2 separate regions of the Homo sapiens genome follow, and region 1 is linked to region 2. The links are contacts of gene promoters, found by promoter capture Hi-C in human tissues and cell types (Jung and others, 2019). All regions are on one chromosome and are shown on one strand. Each heading gives the region's core, a stretch centred on a gene start or on the middle of the fragment in contact. The rest is flanking DNA. Distances are from core to core; before and after follow the strand shown.

Region 1 (6,519 bases), core at 3,151-5,650, 350 kb before region 2:
CATAAAACCAAATATCTTCAATATAATGGACTGTCTTGCATTCTGAAGTGTGTACCTTTTGCTTTGTTAATGTTGAAATGGCCCTTTCTTTTTTGTGTGCTGTCACAAAGTATGCACTGGTAAATATTTGTTTAGTGAATGGATGAATACAATGATGATGACAGCAAATAATCATGTTGGATTTTTCTCTCGAGTCCTTACTTGGCAAAATAAAAGCTGACCTCTCAGTTTTGGTTTCCCAAATACTGTGGACTACTCCAGAAAATTCAAATATCTGGGAATCTTTGACCTATAGGATACCTGGTTTGAATTAGAGCTTTATGGGTGGGACTGATTCATTCTTTGTTCATTCGTAAAGCTGGGCCTGCCCTTATCCTATGCCAGGTGCTGTGCTCTTTCCCTTAAGAAGATGTGATTATTTAATATAGGATGTAGCATCCCTGGTCTTGGTGAGTTGCATGAAAGAGCCTATAGGAGGTAGGGACTTGTGCCGGAGAGCTGTTAGCGCTTTGGAGGGTGTTGACAGGTCCTGAGTATCTCTGCTGCCCAGGTCCCTGCCCACCCTCTGCTCTTGAGCCCCTTTCTGTGTGTGTTTTTCACACAACAATCTACAACACCCACTTGCCCATTTTCCTTGCAGGGTTTGTGCAAGTTTGCAAACATGTTCACCCTGTCTCAGACCTCGAGAGCATGGTTCATCGATAGAGCCCGTCAGGCACGAGAAGAAAGGCTTGTGCAGAAGGAACGGGAGCGGGCAGCTGTTGTGATCCAGGCCCATGTCCGGAGTTTTCTCTGTCGGAGTCGACTGCAGAGAGATATCAGGTAAGGGCTAGGATCTCCCTAGCACATGATTCTCTGGCTCCCAATTAATAGCAGATAAATGAGTTTTTTCTCATAAAGTGCTTGAAAAGCCTTCCAGGTGCTACAAGCTGTTAATTTAAAATGTCTTTTTTTGCACTTTCTTTTCTAGGAGAGAGATTGATGACTTTTTTAAAGCAGATGACCCTGAGTCCACTAAAAGAAGTGCACTTTGTATTTTCAAGATTGCCAGGAAACTGCTGTTCCTATTCAGAATCAAAGAGGATAATGAGGTAAAACGATAATAGCAAACATGTATAATACTTCCATATGTCAGATCTTTTATAATTATTGATATTAACTCAGTTCTTATAGCAGCTTTATGAGGTAATTACTGTCACCCTCACATCCTGTCCCTTTTGTTTTCTTGGGACCTGTTTTGGAGGGATTATGCCCAGTGCTTTTAGGAATCTTTTCACATTGACCATTATAAGCACAAGTTGAACTCAGATGCATGCAAGAGTCAGGAAGTTTAGGTAAATGAGTAAAAAAAACATATATGAGATAAAACATAATACAAAATACAAATCATATTAAACGGTAACTGACAGGCAGCAGTGGTAAGGACATCAAAAGGAGTAGCAGGGTCTGTGGCCTGCCCCATCCACGGGGAGCAGCTACTACACACCTCGGTGGTGGACTCATACTCTGATTTTTTTTTGAGATGAAGTCTCTCTCTGTCGCCAGGCTGGTGTGCAGTGGCGCAGTCTTGGCTCACTGCCAGTCTTCACCTCCCGGGTTCAAGCAGTTCTCCGGCCTCAGCCTCCCTAGTATCTGGAACTATAGGCTCGTGCCACCACGCCCAGCTAATTTTTGTATTTTTAGTAGAGATGGGGTTTCACCATGTTGGCCAGGATAGTCTCGATCTCTTAGCCTTGTGATCTGCCCGCCTCAGCCTCCCAGAGTGCTGGGATTACAGGCGTGAGCCACTGTACCCAGCCTCTGATTTTTTTTTTTTTTTTTTAAAGAGATGCCAAAGATCTGAGTTTTTATGCTCAATGTTCGTTCATTCATTCTTTCATATTCTGAGACAGGGTCTCACTGTCGCCCAGGCTGGAGTGCAGTAGCACTATCACAGCTCACTATAGTCTTGACCTCCCAAGTCTCAAACGATTCTTCTGCCTCAGCCTCCTCAGTAGCTGGGACTGCAGGTGTGTGCCACCATGCACAGCAAGTTTTTGTATTTTTTGTAGAGATAGGGTTTTACCTTATTGCCCAGGCTTGTCTCAAACTCCTGGGCTCAAGTGATCCACCTGCCTCAGCATCCCAAAGTGCTGGGATTACAGGCGTGAGCTACCATCAATGTTCTAATTTGTAAATCTTGGCAATTAATTTGAAATTTTTTAAATATCCTGCAAATCATACAAAAGGTGCCAGTTTGCACCTTAGGGATTAGAATGATCAGCCTGAAAAGTGTAATCCCAGAAAAGCAGCTAGTTATCTGTAATAGTACTAACAATGCCACTGAGGCATGTCTCCAAGTTACCAGCTGTTAGGCTGTTAGGCATTCCTATTGCTAAGCTTCACATTGTGCCAACCCTCTCTAGGCACTGGGCCCTTGGGAGGAAACAGGACGGGCAAGATCTCTACGCTCATGGAGCTCATAGCCCAGCAAGAGAGGGAGGACTATGCAGGCAGTGAACACATGATTACGTAGATGAGGACAGATAAGCTGGAGGAGGTGAACCTCATCTTACAGAGAAGGAAACTGCAGCTCAGGGTGGTAGGGCAGCTTGCCCAATATCACATGGTTTAAGGGCGGATCCAGGATTGGTATAGCCAAAATGGAACCTGTTTTCTAGTTTCCACTTTTCTTCCTTTTGCATTACAGGATAAAAGTGATGATACAGCAGCCTTTGGCTACTGGCTGTGAGGCAAAAGTCAGTATCCATGGTGCTTAAGAAAAGGTAAACTGGAGAGCACAGTTGAGGAGACAGCAGCAGGCCTGCAGGAATCCAAATCCAGTTTGCCAGATTGATACTGTTTTTTGAAAGAAGCCTCAATTTGGGTTTTTATGTGAAGTATACCAGTTTCTAAAACATTTCTATAGGGTTCCTCCAGCTCTTGGGCCACCAGTTGGAGAACCCTTTAGTCTTTATGATCTTCAGTGTCCTCATCTGTAGGAAGGAACTGCATGTGATTATGTGTGAATCACCTGGCATAATACCTGCACGTGCCAGGTACCCGCTGAAGGCTTGTTTTCTTTGTTTTCACTTTTTGATGGATTGTGGGAATGTATAACCCCCAGTGTGTCTCTTTGCAGAGATTTGAGAAGTTGTGTCGCAGCATCCTGAGCAGCATGGATGCTGAGAATGAGCCTAAGGTAAGTGGACGGGAGCCGCAGTGTCTCCCACAAGCTCTTAAGGGCCAACCTACTGGGCTCTGAAAGTTCCTGTTGAATATTAGGACCAATTCACACACAAATGCAAATAAGTAGTGGATGGAAAACATTACCAAAGTACAAATGATTCCTTAGTTTCTTCATGATCCAGGTAGCTACGTTCTGCTCTTGCCACAACACAGGATAGTAAATTTTCTTACTAGGCTATTTTGTCTTTGCGTTTAGTGTTAAAATAAGTCCTGTTTACAGCTTATTTGTCCATTCAGGTCCACTGCTTTATCTGGCACTGGACCTAACTAATAGGTCCAGTTCCAACAGTTAGAGCACAAGTGATATGATCTCTATAACAGCCCATGACATTCCTCTTTTTCCCACCTATAGGTGTGGTATGTGTCCCTGGCTTGTTCTAAGGACCTCACCCTCCTTTGGATTCAACAGATCAAGAACATTTTGTGGTACTGCTGTGATTTTCTCAAGCAGCTCAAGGTAACAAAAAAAAAAAAAAAAAAAAAAAGCAAAACCAGAAACAGTACGTATGTCATTTTCACCTGTAGACTTTAGTCTGTATTTTCAGAGTCACTATCAACGAGAGTTGCTAGTTGAGCCACTGTTCTGGAAGAGAGGAATTTTGATTCTGTTATCAATATGAGCCCTCCTTTGGTGTGTGTTGGACCCTTAAACTGCTTGCCACGCCACAGCCTCCATGGCAGGGAATCTGTCACTTTCCTTCCCATTCATTTAATGTAATCAGTACTTTATGATCTACATTATTATACTAGTCAGGCCTCTTGTTAAAAGTACAGAAGCCGAACGTGAGCACAGCTAGTATCACGTACCAGTTAAGCAAGGAAGAGAACGTTGTGCTCTAGAATATATTCAGTAACGTGGCAGCTAGAGTAAGGAGAGCTAGGGGGTTCTGATTCTCCCTCTCATTCTTTTCTCTCATCCCTGCTCCCTTTTGGGGTCACCTCGTCCTTTCCTGCTGTAATCATGGCAACGAGCAGTTTTGACTTTATATTCTTACTCTGTCTTGACTAAAGGGAGGAGAGGCCTCCCGACCAGTTCAAAAATCCAGGTTTCTTGTAGGTCCAGTGAATCCTGGGTTCATCTCTGAACCAGTCACAGTGGCAAGAGGAATGGGGTACTGCCACTAGCCCAGCCTGGTCCTGTGTTCCCCTACCCCCTTCAGTGTTCTGAAAAGGATGGACAGGGGTGTGAGCAGACATACACAGGAGCCACTTCCACTTTGCTTATAAGGATAGAGAGGTCTCAGGGACAGAGGCTTGGCAAGGACACAGATAGCAGCTCAGTAATGGAACGAAAGTCCCCAGACCGCCCCCAACCCCAGTAATAATCCATTCCCAGCCATCCCTCTTTGGCTGCTCAGGAATGGCTCTTGCCATGCCTGGCTTGTCAGGTGAGACATGGCTCAGCGCAGGGTTTCCACACTATGTTCCTCGGAGCCCTGGGAGTCCACCAGAATGCCTTAGGGCCAAGTGAGCAGGGTATTTCCCTACCTGCACGCGAGCCAGGCAGATCCTTGTTTATCTGCTCTCTATGTGTACATTCCACAACAGATTGCTCTTTGAGGAGAAGCTCTTCTATTTTGGACAAACAAAAAAAGTTTATGCAAAGAAACAGACGTCAGGAGAAAAAGGGCCCTGACTCTGGAGCCAGGAATATGTGAAATTCAGTCCTGATTCTGCTGTTCATTTCCCACGTGGCCTTGAACAAGCTGCTTCCCCTCTCTTACTGTCGATGAGCTTTGAGGTTTGAACTCAGTGGTCTCCAAGGTTGTCTCCAAGGTCCCTTCCAGGTGGACCTGCTATAGGGTCTGTGGGCCTAGAAAGCAGTCAGGCCTTTTGCTTGACTTACACTTGGTGAAACAATGAACTGTCATCAAAATTAGAACAGCAGCCAACATTACATGGAGTTATCTATGTGCCAGACACTGTTCTTAGTGCATCATACGCATTAATCCATTTATTTCTCACAACAACCCTATGAGGAAAGCAGTGTTACTATTTCTGGTCAACAGATGAGGAAACCGAGGCACAGAAAGGTTAAGAAACTTGCCTAAGCTCACACAGCTAGTAAGTGGTGAAGTCAGAAGGCTGAGCCCAGAGTCCTAGTCATGCTCAATTGCATTTCTGCTCTGTTGCTGCAGAGTTCAGACAGACAGGCAGGCACATGTACATACAGCAAGCCAGCCCTGGTCATCTTGTTTTCTAGGGATTCTCAATTCTCCATTCCCAAGAATAATGGAATCCCATGATTCCATTATCAGGCACTAGAGTGCCACATTCCCTGTTATTTAACTCCTGGAGTGGTCATTGCCCAAGAGAAAAAGAATTAAGACTGACTTATAATCCTGACTCAGTGATTCCAGGCTGAGTGCCCATAGAGCAGTTGTAAAGTGAACACTTCACTGTCTGGAATCAGAAGACGTGTGTCTTAATCTTGCTGTGTTTATTGTTTCCAGCCTGAAATCCTGCAGGACTCCCGACTCATCACCCTGTACCTCACGATGCTTGTCACCTTCACAGACACTTCAACGTGGAAAATTCTTCGGGGAAAAGGTCTGTGGGACTTGCTTCAAAATGTTCTCTAACCAACATTTCCATAGAGAGCTCAGGGACCTTTTTTCCTTTGTAAGAAGCATTTTTGCCACAAGCCTCAGGGAAGGCCCTGAGACCATACAAATGAGGATGCCCTTGGTGCTGACCATCAGACTGCATCGCAGTATCCACAATCCATTCAGCATTGTGTGTTGTACTCAACCCTTCTTTGAATTTACATTTAAAGTCATGGTTCTTCTGATTTTAATTTTTATAGTTCCCACAGTGCCTTAGCCTCCAAGTGATTACATTCACTTAAGCCTTGTCATTTTACTTGGAAAATCATTAGGTTGTGAATAATTCTATTTTGCCCATAAAATTTGCATTATAAACTTCTTCCTTCCCTGGTAAGTGTCGTTAGTGCCGTGTGTTTCATATGGTCATTTCATTCATCTGTTCAACAAGTAGCCCATACATGCCAGATGCCTCTAGGCGCTGAAGACAGATAAGCAAAACAGAAAGGGGCATTGCCCTCCAGGGACTTTAGGTGCTCCCTTCCTCACAGAACTTAAAGTCCGATGAGGAAAACAGGCATTAAATAGATGTCGCTCATAGATATAAAATGACAATAATGTGGTAAGTGCTTGGAAGGAAGCATGCAAGAGAAATGAGAGTGTCCAGTAGGGTGGGGAGGCCTTGCTTGGTCTGGGTCTCTAGCTTTCCTGAAGAAGTGGTGTGTGAGCTGAGAGCTGCAGAGGGAGC
Region 2 (6,082 bases), core at 1-2,500:
GCTAAGGGACCAGGCCAAGGTCACACAGCAGGGGACTGCAGAGCACACCCCGGGCCCCACACAGGCCCGCTCTTAGCCCCGCAGATAACCCAGGCCTGACCTTTCTACCCTTGTTCCCCCAAAAGCCCACCTCGTCACCCTCCTCAGGAGCCCGGGGAGTCCCGACTTACCCTCTGCCCTTGCTCCGGAGCCAAAGTGGCAAAGCTTAAATCCTCAAGCGGTTCTTAGCATCCCAGAACAAAGCTCCCACAGGGTATCTGCCTAACATTTCAGGGGTTCACGGCCCCTCTGCCCCCAGCAGAGGCTCTTGTTTTAGAAGCTGAGCCAGAACAGCCACAGGGCCCACCTCTGCCCTGCCACTTCCCAAGCACCCCGGGGGCACCAGGCCCTGTGTGCAGAGCTGGCCCCAGGACAGGCCACCTGGTGTGGTGGGAAGGGCTTTGGGGCTGGATAGTCCCTGGGTTTAAATCCCAATTGTCTAGATCCCCGACCTAAGCCTCAGTTTCCCCATCTGCAAAACAGAGAGGACAGACAGAGGGAACAGCTGGGGCAGGCTGGAGCAGTGGGTGGCTCGATGAATGCATCTGTGGTTGGTGTTTCCAGGCAAGCGGGGAGTGTGGGAGTCTCTCTCTCCCCCACCCCCACCCCCGCTACCCACCCCCAGGAGCCACCCGCCCCCGGGACGTCCTGAGAGTCCAGGGCAGAACTAGAGGTTAAAGATTTTCATGCCTCTTGGAGGAAACAGCCGTCTCTCCGGGACTCAGTAACCAAGAAGAAGCCTTTGGAAGCTCCAGACTCCAAATTCCCTCCGACATGCTCAGGGGCCAAGGGCAAACCTTAGGTCCCCCGAAATCCCTCTTCCAAGTCTCCTAAGGTGGGCTGCAAGGCTCCGGGCCTTTGGTTCCCTGGCTTGGGGTCTCAGGGAACCGAACCGCCCTCCCCCCAGACCTGCTACCCCAGGCCCCACGTTGGTGCCCATTTCACAGGTGATAAAACCGAGACCCAAAGAGCCGGTGTCCGGCCCAAGGGCACTTAGCTGAGAGGCTGGCGCCTGCGGAACCTGGTGCCTTCCGTCTCCCGCGCCCCTGGCCCGCATTTTGGAGCCTCGGGACCCCCCGGAGCCGGACGGGCCACGGAGATGTCCCCAGGGGCGCGAGGGGACCTCGGCTGAGCCGCCCCTCCCGGGCCCGGGCCCCACTTACCTCCGGGACGGCTGGGCGCCGGCGGCCGGGAGATCCGCGCTTCCTGAATCCCGGCCGGCCCGCCCGGCGCCCGTCCGCCCGCGGGTCCCTCCTCCGCCGGCTCAGGTTCCAGCCGCGCGCCGCCCCCGGCCAGCTCCCCGCCCACCCGCCGGCTCGCGGACCCCGCCGAGCGCAGGCCCTAGAAGGGGCGGCCCCTACTCGCACCCCGCCCGCCCAGCGAGGGCCTCCCCTGCGGGGGAGGTGCAGGGCCAGGGCCTCAGTTTCCTCGCCTGGAAAATGGGTGTCGCGATCCCCGGATAGAGCGGCAGACGGTCTTTGGAGAGGGCTCTAGTTGGAATCGGCTCCGATTCGATCTTGCTCCGTGACTTCGGGCCGCCCTGGGACTGTGTCCTAGTCTCTAAATGGGCGTCCCGGCCCAGTCCTCCACGTGTTTGCTCATTCATTCATTCAGCAGACAATTTCCTCCGAGGCGTTGAAGGAGGTCCCTACCCTCGGGTATGGCCCATAGAGATGGTTCAGGGGTAAATAAATGTGAGCTGCTCTCCTTGGTCTTCACCCAGTGCTTACTGCGAAGCCTGCCTCGGAGTAGGCCATCAATGTTTTGTTGCTGTTGTTTTTGAGACAGGGTCTCACTCTGTTGCCCAGGCTGGAGTGCGGTGGCGTGATCAGGAATCACTGCAGCCTCAACCACCAGCGTTCAAGCAATCCTCCCGTATCAGCCTCCCTAGTAACTGAGACCACAGACGCCTACCACCATGCTTGGCTAATTTTATTTAAATTTTTTGCAGAGATAGGGTCTCACTATGTTGCCTAGGCTGGTCTCAAACTCCAGGCTCAAGCGATCTACCCACCTCGGCCTCCCAAAGTGCTGGGATTAGAGGTCTGAGTCACCGTGCCTGGCTCAATGCGTTTTTGTTTATTTTTTTTATTATTATTATTATTTTTGATACATGTTCTCCCTTTGTCACCCAGGTTGAAGTGCAGTGGCATGATCACGGCTCACTACAGCCTCAAACTCCTGGCCTCAAGAGATCCTCCCACCTCAGCCTCCTGAGCAGCTGGGAGTACAGGCATGCGCCACCACACCCCACTAATTTTTATTTTTTTGTAGAAGGGGGGGTGGGGGAGGGCAGCCGGTCTACAACTCCTGGCCTCAAGTGATCCTCCCACTTCAGTCTCCCAAAGCACTGAGAGTATAGGCATGAGCCACCACACCTACCCATGTATTTTCTTTTATCAGATAACAAAGGTGGGCCCCAACACATAGCCATACCCTCTACCCAGCACTGAGTCCACTTGAATACCTCCACAGGATGGGCAGCTCACTTCCTCCAGGGTGGTTGGAAAGCCTAGCAGGCCCACAGCTTGGCTCTGTGACTCTCTAACCCAGCAGCCCTATGCAAGTCCCTTCACCTTTGTGCCTCAGTGCCTCTACATCCCCCTGTAGAGTGGGGCATACAAAAGTCCTCACCTCACAGTCGCAGTGAAGATGCTGGGAGCATCCAGGCTGTGCAGAGCCCTTTTTTTTTTTTTTTTGAGACAGAGTCTTACTCTGTCGCCCAGGCTGGAGTTCAGGGGTGTGATCTCAGCTCACTGCAACCTCTGCCTCCTGAGTTCAAGCGATTCTCCTGCCTCAGCCTCCTGGGGGCTGGGATTACAGGCATGCGCCACCACGCCAGGCTAATTTTTTGTATTTTTAGTAGAGACAGGGTTTCACCATGTTGGCCAGGCTGGTCTTGAACCCCTGACCTCAGTTGATCCACCCACTTTGGCCTCCCAAAGTGCTGGGATTACAGGTGTGAGCCGCCGTGCCCGGCCCAGAGCCATGCCATTTTCATCATTAGTGTTTTCACTAAATTGAGCTGACTCAGGGACTGTGGGGTAGCTCCTTCCTCCTCAGCTTGAAAATAGCAGCATCTCTCCTGAGGTCCAACAGCTGGAAAGTGAAATTTTAGAATTGCTGGGTGGGGAGGCGAAAGAGAGAGAGAGAGAGTGTGTGTGTGTGTGTACCCCTGAATAGGAGTGATGTGTTCACCTCCAGCGTGAAACATTTACAAAGAAACAAACCCTAATAATTAACTCACTGAGCACAGAAGCCTAGGGGATGAGAGGGAGAACAGGCTGTGAGGTAGGGTTTGCTCTACCCATTTTGCAAGTGGGAAACTGAGGCTTGGAGAGGAGTATGGCCTCTCCAAAAGCTGCTCCCTCCATGGTGGGGGTTGGGGTGGGAAAGAGAACCCTCTGAGGGTCCGGAGTAAACAGGCAGATGTCTGGCAGTGGAGAGGAAGGTAAACACAGGGCCCCTCACACCTCCCTGACAGACAGCTATCTGCTGGGGGCCCTCAGGGCTGGGGCTGGGGCTGGGCCAGGTTGAGAGTGGAGGAGTGAGTCTGGGACCCATTTCTGCAGAAAGGCCTGTCTCAATTTAAAGAAAATGGCAAGGGTGATTCCAGCCATAAGGCAGCTGATGTTGGGGACTGGAACTGGGGGAGATGGGGCCAGGGATGGCGACCTCCTCTTCTCTAAGCTCAGAGGGAAGGGGCCTGAGCGCTCAGCATCATCATCACTAACCCAGCTCTTTCCTGATCCCCATTTCACAGATGGGGCAACTGAGGCCCCCATGTAGGGAAGTGACTCATCTTGGGCTAAGCAGCTGGAGCTTGGCCTCTGCACCAGACACTGGGGTTCAAATCCTGCCCTGCCGCTGATGGGAGAAGGAGCTGTGGTGGGAGCTGTGGGCAAGAGCCTCCCTCTCTCTCTGTGCCTCAGTTTCCTCACCTAAAAAATGGGTACCAGTGTCCATGAAGCAAGGGAACGTGTTCATGACCACAGGTCTAGCACCTGGCACTTAGTAGGTGCTTTAAAAATACTGGTTGATGGGTCAGGCGAAGTGGCTCATGCCTGTAATCCCAGCACTTTGGGAGGCTGAAGTGGGCAGATCAACTGAGGTCAGGAGTTCGAGACCAGCCTGGCCAACATGATGAAACCCCGTCTCCACTAAAAATACAAAAATTAGTTGGGCATGGTGGTGGGCACCTGTAATCCCAGCTACCTGGGAGGCTGAGACAGAATTGCTTGAACCTGGGAGAGGGAGGTTGCAGTGAGCAGAGATCGTGCCACTGCACTCCAGCCTGGGCAACAGAGAGCGACTCCATCTCAAAAAAAAAAAAAGTCCTGGTTGATGGAGCTGGGGGAGAGGAGAATGGGAGGTTGCTGTTTGTTGGGCGTAGGGTTTCAGTTTTGCAAGATGCAAAGAGTTCTGGAGATGAACGAGGGTCACACAACAATATGAATATACTTTTTAAGTTTAATTTTTAATCTTTTTTTTTTTATTTTTAGAGAGAGACAGGGTATTGCTCTGTAGCCCAGGCTGTAGTGCAGTTGCCTGCTCATAGCTCACTGCAGCCTCAAATTCCTAGGTTCAAGCGATCCTCCTGCCTCAGCCTCCTGAATAGCTGGGACTATAGGTGTGTGTCACCAAGCCTGGCTTTTTAAATTTTATTTTTTGTACAGGTGAGGTCTCGCTATGCTGCCCAAGCTGGTCTCAAACTCCCGTGCTCAAGTGATCCTCATAACCTGGCCTCTCAAAACATTGGGATTACAGGCATGAGCCACTGTGCCTAGCCAGAAATAATGTTTCCTCTTAGGGAAGGAAAAACTTTCAAGGCCCTCAGCATTGGCTGTGAGTCATGTGGCAGCCACATGTGGGGCGCAGCCTTGCTCTCCACGTAGCTCCTGGACTGCCCCAGGTGGACTCAGCTACCTCCCCTAAGAAAGGTTCCTGGGCAGCAGCCAAGGGTCTGCATTTACCAAGTGCTTACTGTATGCCAGGTCCAGTGCCAGATGCTGGGGAGAGATTGGTGAGCCAGACAGGTCAGGATCTCAGGGACTTTATACCCAGGGTACCCAGTTATAAAAACAAGACACGTGCACCTCACTTTACAGTTGGCACAGTCCTGATCCTGCCACTAACTCAGTTCATCTTTTGACAGCCTGGAAAGGAGGAATTCTTCCACCATTTTATAGATAATGACACAAAGAGGCCACTTGTCTGAGATCATCCCACAACTGGTAAGATTTGAACCCAAGCCCAGCAGACTCTACAGTGTAGCATGACCAGCAGGAATATTTTCCTGGCCAGGTGCGGCGGCACACACCTGTAATCATAGCATTTGGGGAGGCTAAGGCAGGAGAATCACTTGAGCCCTGGAGGTCAAGGCTGCAGTGAGCTGTGTTCAGGCAGCTACACTCCAGCCTGAGCAACAAAGTGAGACCCTGTCTAGGAAAAAAAGAAAAAAAGAATATGATCTCAAAAAGACAGACCATAAGTGTGGATGAGGAAGTGGAGAAGCTGGAATCTTCGCACACTGCTGGTGGGAATGTGTAATGGAGTGGCTGCTATGGAAAACGGTCTGGCAGTTCCTCCAAATATTAAATCTAGAGTTACTGCCAGGCACGGTGGCTCCCGCCTGTAATCCCAACACTTTGGGAGGTCAAGGCGGAAGGATCACTTGAGGCCAGGAGTTTGAGACCAGCCTGGCCAACACGGTGAAACCTCATCTCTAATTAAAAAAAAAAATACAAAAATTAGCCGGGCATGATGGTGGGCACCTGCAATCCCAACTACTCAGGAGGTTGAGGCACAAGAATTGCTTAAGCCCAGGAGGCAGAGGCTGCAGTGAGCTGAGATTGTGCCACTGCACTCCAGCCTGGGCAACAGAGTGAGATCCTGTCTCAAAAAAAAAAAAAAAATCTGGAGTTCCCATATGACCCAGCAATTCCACCCCAGAAATATAGCCAAGAGAAATGAGAACTTACGTCCATAGAAAAACTTGAATGTTCATAGCAGCATTATTCATAATAGCCAAAAAAAGAAAACA

What was found. The method cuts DNA at HindIII sites, captures the fragments that hold promoters and counts their contacts. A contact is called where the count stands out against the background at its distance.
Region 1: a contact is called between a fragment that was not itself captured here and the fragment with the promoter of TRPV4 in region 2, in 1 of the 25 tissues and cell types used here (stomach).

The regions. Positions count from the first base shown.
Region 1 is chr12:109,482,891-109,489,409 of GRCh38, forward strand. UBE3B (ubiquitin protein ligase E3B) reads left to right here. Exons shown (of 28, transcript NM_130466.4): 3 at 641-822; 4 at 971-1,091; 5 at 3,122-3,181; 6 at 3,581-3,685; 7 at 5,682-5,778. The coding sequence starts at 662. Among named protein-coding and RNA genes, the nearest start is that of UBE3B, 8.5 kb to the left of the region's middle. The HindIII fragment of the contact is 7,663 bases long and covers 570-6,519 here.
Region 2 is chr12:109,832,148-109,838,229 of GRCh38, forward strand. TRPV4 (transient receptor potential cation channel subfamily V member 4) reads right to left here and starts at 1,251. Exons shown (of 16, transcript NM_021625.5): 1 at 1,203-1,251. MIR4497 (microRNA 4497) reads left to right here and starts at 1,201; the gene lies at 1,201-1,289. The HindIII fragment of the contact is 21,611 bases long and covers 1-6,082 here.